Regions from separate parts of the Homo sapiens genome. Here region 1 is linked to region 2. The links are contacts of gene promoters, found by promoter capture Hi-C in blood cells and fetal thymus (Javierre and others, 2016). All regions are on one chromosome and are shown on one strand. The core of a region is centred on a gene start or on the middle of the fragment in contact, and the rest is flanking DNA. Distances in the headings are between cores, read along the strand shown.

What was found. Contacts are between HindIII fragments. The CHiCAGO score rates a contact against its expected background, and 5 or more counts as called.
Region 1: a fragment that was not itself captured here is called in contact with the fragment with the promoter of ZNF805 in region 2 in 1 of 17 cell types (non-activated CD4 T cells); the score reaches 8.8 in non-activated CD4 T cells.

The regions. Positions count from the first base shown.
Region 1 is chr19:43,988,917-43,991,616 of GRCh38, reverse strand. It overlaps ZNF155 (zinc finger protein 155), which reads right to left. Exons shown (of 5, transcript NM_198089.3): 3 at 1-69. Among named protein-coding and RNA genes, the nearest start is that of ZNF155, 6.1 kb to the right of the region's middle. The HindIII fragment of the contact is 3,880 bases long and covers 1-2,700 here.
Region 2 is chr19:57,239,272-57,241,971 of GRCh38, reverse strand. ZNF805 (zinc finger protein 805) reads right to left here and starts at 1,340. Exons shown (of 4, transcript NM_001023563.4): 1 at 1,051-1,340. The coding sequence starts at 1,080. RefSeq lists a silencer at 1,043-1,112 and enhancers at 1,233-1,502, 1,523-1,742. The HindIII fragment of the contact is 2,977 bases long and covers 1-1,391 here.

The DNA.
Region 1 (2,700 bases), core at 150-2,649, about 13 Mb after region 2:
GGCAGGGTCCAGCAGCCCCAGCTCCTCCTCAGTGAAGACCACAGCCACATCCTTGAAGGTCACTGCCTCCTACAACATCAAGAAGACATAACTTCAATCTTATGACCAAGGACTACTGGGGGAGAAGCGGCATTGAGCAGGGGAAGGGGATGAGTGGAAAGTTGTTCTCAGTATTGAGGGATGTAGGTCAACTTAGAGATTTCCCACTCATTCTGTCTATATCCTGACAATGACACATACTGATTTTCCTGAACTCCACCAGAAGTGCAATGATGAAGTCTCATACATTTATTCTGTGCACTCATTGAGTCTACTTGTATGTAACCCTCTAGGACTCTACATGCTGCATCCTGAGCTACCCATATATAGGTTCGACACATCTTGCCAACTGCCCCAGCAACATTAAACAATTCAGTCCCAACTTTGTTGGGTCCTCCTCTCTCGTACTCAAACCCTGGATGCTATTGCTTTTCTTTAGTATTTGCTAAACTAACAAGTTTTAGGTAACTGTGGGTAATTTTCAGGGTGGCCTTGAATCATTCTTTCTTGTGTATAGTTTTGAAGAATAAACATAGAACATGCTAGCAATGCAATGTTCCTGTCCTTCCTAGGGAAGATAATGTCTTGAGTTAGGGAGAAAGTGCCCAGTAAGTCGTATTGCCCCGGAGGTATATAACCTCGGGTGGGCTGCCTTCTGGGGTACCTCTGCTCTGGTGGAAATGGGGTCAAGATTCTACCCACCCCAGGACGTTTTCTTCAGCCTTGGATGGCCACCTCACAGTGTATCCTACACTCCTGTGCTCCCTTGCTGCCAATTTGTAGATAACAAATCTGCTTCACGTAATCTGTTGAGTGAGATCGTGTTCTGTCTCACAGGACTCACACAAGTTGGTAATCAGTGCACAGTGAACCTACTCCACAGTACCAGTGTGGACAGCTGAGTGGGACAGTTATGTAGTGTGTCCTCTACTCTCAAGGTACAAACCACAAATGTTAATTGCAGCCTTCAGTGTCCTGATCAGAAGCCAGAATGCATCACTGTACATCCTAAGGGTCTGCCCCTTCCTAACTGTGTGGCCTTAGACATGTTTGCCTACAGGATTTACTTTCCTCTCTAAATAATAGTCCTTATTTGGCACAGTATTTTAAAGGATTAAACAAGGAAATACATAGCATTTGGAAACATCTGTGCCACTGTTTAATGAACATTAGCTGGAATCTTTTTTACTGTTGTTACTAGCATTATCTATTTCATGGCTGCATAGTATTCCAGAGATCTGATGACCTACTTTTAGCTACAGTAAAGAATATTTAATTTTACATATTTTCCATTATCAATCCTGTAAAGAGCATCATTAAGTAATGATGTAGCAAGATGTAAGAACATCTTACTCTCTCATTGTTTAAAATAATAATTTCAAATGAAAATTAAAACATCAAAAAATAAGCACATTTAGAACTGTGATCATATAACTGCATGCTTTCTTCCCAGTTTTTTACCTACCTCCATAATCTTTGAACAGAATACAAGTACTTTGCTTCTCTTTATCATGACCAAGAGCAGGTTATAAGTATTCCCACAGTCTTGGTAATCTGATTTGGGGAACAAATCATTCTATTATTCTCACTTATTTGATTACAAATGAAAACCATCACTTTTCAAGGTTATTGGCCATCTCTACTTCTCCTTTTACATTGGCCTTTTAGTGTCCTTTGTTCCTATCTGTTTGGAGTTTTTCCTTTATTCTGTGCTCAAGGTTTTGATTTTGAATTTTATTTTCTTTAGGTATCCACGTGGCTAACATTTCTGCCCCAGGTCATTATTTCTTCTGGTAACATTGTGTGAGGCATCTTTTGCCAAAAGGGATTTAAAGATTTTCTATAACAACTATGGTAATCAGTATACTTCAGTGCCTGGAGTAGATGCCATGTCATAGTGACATGTGACAAGAAGTCACACCAAGTAGGGACAGGGAGGAGCAGCACCACTAGGGACACCATCACTCCACAGGGCACTCCAGACATCCACATCACAGGGCACAGGTTGCTCAATGGAGAATTCTGTCTCTCTCCTTGTTTCTCTTTTTCACCTGAGCCGAATGGCTAACACTCCTGACCTTTGGTTGCCTGTGTACACCTGAGAAGGTTTCTCATATTTCACCTGTTCAAGAAGAAGAAGAGACCAGGAACCTCATTCCGCTGCGCTGAGGAGTAAATGTAGTAACAGAACACAAGTGATTGGCAAAACTTAGTATCACTGGACATTTTAAATGAAGGCTTTCTACTGCTTTGGTTAAACTGCTTACTACATAAATGAATAAGAAGAGACCAGTAAATAAAGCACATGCAAAGTATGACTGAGACAAGGAGAACACAGAATCTAGCTCTTCCAGTGTGAAAACTCCAACAATATTTGTGTGGTGCAGCAGTTACATCCTTTTGTTCTGTGCCTAGTTAAAATATTCTATCTGCAAAACAGCCAATGTGGTACATATCAAAAGTACCCTTTCAAAATTGAGCTAAAATGGCATATGGTTTTCAAAATTAATTTTGTGGGAAAAGGTTATGTATAGGAAAGCTGTCACTGCAGTGTTGCTTAAAATATGTCTATGAGCGTGAGGTAGTTATAAATAAAAAGATACATCAATGTAATAGGAATATGATGTAACCATAAAAATGGAAGATTATATAACATATAAA
Region 2 (2,700 bases), core at 91-2,590:
TCCTTTAAGACCTCAACTCAGTAGGTGTCTAAAACTTTGCCAGATTCTCTATACAAAAACGCTAGACCAAGGGCAGGTGAGAAGGGGACTACTTTAGTCTGAACTGCCATGAAAGGCCGCTTTAAAGAAGTGACATTTGAGCAGAGCCAACAAGATGTGAAAGGGTCTTGCAGAGATCTGAGGATAGTGTCTGAGGCTGAATGAACTGTAAAGGTGAAGGCTGAGGGGTAGGAAAGAACTCTGCGTGATCAGATTGATATGTCTGAAGGGCTGAGCCAGGGAGGAAAGGAAGGAAACAAGGACAGAGGTGGTCAGCCATAGTGGACCTGTGTCTGAAGCGCTGAGCCAGGGAGGAAAGGAAGGAAACAAGGACAGAGGTGGTCAGCCATAGTGGACCGGGTAGGGACTTGCAGGCCAAGGCTGAGTTCGGATGATGTGTGTGACGGGAGTCCCTGGAGTGGAACTTCATCCATCCTTCAAGCAATTATTAAGCAGCTTTCAGAGGCCTGACACTTTAGCAGTGGAAAGCTGCAGAAGGGCTAACTAGAAGTGGGGCATCGTATGTGATTGGTTAGGCTGAGCACGTATGGCTTTCTCTGCTTGGTCCTCTTTTGGAGGCGGAGGCAAAAATTAGAACAGTCAGTTACAAATCAAGTCCTATTTGGGGCCTACTGTTCCAGGAGTTACCGTTTAGCCTCCTGAAATGTCACCAGAGAGTAATCTAGCTCCTTGCAAGACTAACTTAAGGCAGACTGGCTTCCAGAGTAGTTTATTGCAGAACAGGAGGCTGGTTTCCTGGGCAGGTTGCTACAAAAAAATTGTACGTCACAGCCCTATAATCGATGTATAGTCTGCCTACTGTCCGCTTCAATATTCAGTCTCTCAGGTACTACCACGACAGGAGATAAACTAAGTGACGAGCCTGCTCCACGTTTCGTAAACAAACAAAACTACAAAGAGGAATCCTGTGGCTGTCTTGGCTTCCGGCCTGCCCAGGAGGCTTCCCCGAACTAGCAGAAAAGCAGCAAGGCCGAAACCTTGTCCACTCACCTGCGCCGGGTCCGTCAAAGCCATCGCCATACCGGGACCCTGTGGCCCTAGCGGGGCGGGGGCTGCGGCGAGCAGGGCGGGTCTCGCGGGCTCAGCCGAGCCCCACCCCTTCCCTGCGCCGGGCCCGGTGACCTTGGCTGACAGTCAAACTCTCTCGTTACGGGGAGGCTCACGGTTCGCTCCGAGACGCGGAGGTCGCTGTCGGCCTCCTACCTGCTCATTTCCCCAGCGCCGCCAGGGAGGCGGCCACGGAACACCGCCCCCTCCCTAGAGCCGGCGTGGACGGAACCGTCGCTCCCAAATTACGTCCCATCCAAATGCCGGAAGTCCCGCCCCAAGCTTCGCAACCCACAGGAAACGCCCCTGTCCTGGACCATCATTGGCCCCAGGGCCCGCCGTCGCACCTGGCAATGCCTTGTAGTTAATGTAGTTTTTCTCTACAAACCACCTGCAAAGGGGACAGATCCTGAGCCGGCAGGCCTCGGTGTAAAAGTCGCAGCGGGCCTACAGCCCGGCTCAGACCTGCCTCTGTCCTGGGGGCACAACTCGGAGGCCAGGGACCAAGCGCGAGACCGTCCATTCTTGGCCGGAGGAAATCGAGCCCCAGGAGTCAGGGACATTTGCCAGGGTCAGGGCCAGTGCAGAGACCCTGGACCAGGCTCCGGACTCTGACTTCCACCTTGCATTATTTCCCCTCCGGATCCTCTTATACAGATCAGCGGGCAGTCAGAGTAACCAAAGGGGGACGTCGGGCGGCGCGATGCCTCAGGCCTGGGATCCCAGCGCATTGGGAGGCCAAGGGGGGCGGATCGCTTGAGCCCAGGAGCTCAAGACCAGCTTGAGCAACATAGGGAGACTACCAAAAAAAAAAAAAATTTTTTTAAAATAAGCTGAGTGTGCTGGCGCACACCTGTGGTCCCAGAAGTCTGTGGCAGGAGGATCGCTTGAGGACAGGAGTTTGAGAACAGTCTGGGCGACAGAGCGAGACCTCATTGGTACCAAAAAAAAAAAAAAAAGAAAAAGAAAAGAAAAAAAATAGAGCGCGGTGGCTCACGCCTGTAATCCCAGCACTTTGGGAGGCCGAGGCGGGTAGATCACGAGATCAGGAGATCGAGACCATCCTGGCTAACACGATGAAACCCCGTCTTTACTAAAAATGCAAAAAATTAGCCGGGCGTGGTGGCTGGCGCCTGTAGTCCCAGCTACTCGGGAGGCTGAGGCAGGAGAATGATGTGAACCCGGGAGGCGGAACTTGCAGTGAGCCGAGATCGCGCCACTGCACTCCAGCCTGGGCGACAGAGTGAGACTCCGTCTCTCTCTCTCTCTCTCTCTCTACTTATATATACATATATTTATATATACATATATACATATATACGTATATATACATATGTATATATACGTATATATATGCACATATATATTTATATATATATTTATATATATATTTTTTGAGACAGGGTCTCGCTCTGTTGCTCAGGCCATAGTGCAGTGGCGCGATCACAGCTCACTGCAGCCTCAAACTCCAGGGTTCAAGTGATCCTCCCACCTCAGCCACCCAAGTAGCTGGGACTGCAGGCACGCACCACCACGCCCAGCAAATTGAGGGTTTTTTTGTTTTGTTTTGTAGTTTTTGTAGTCAGTTTCACC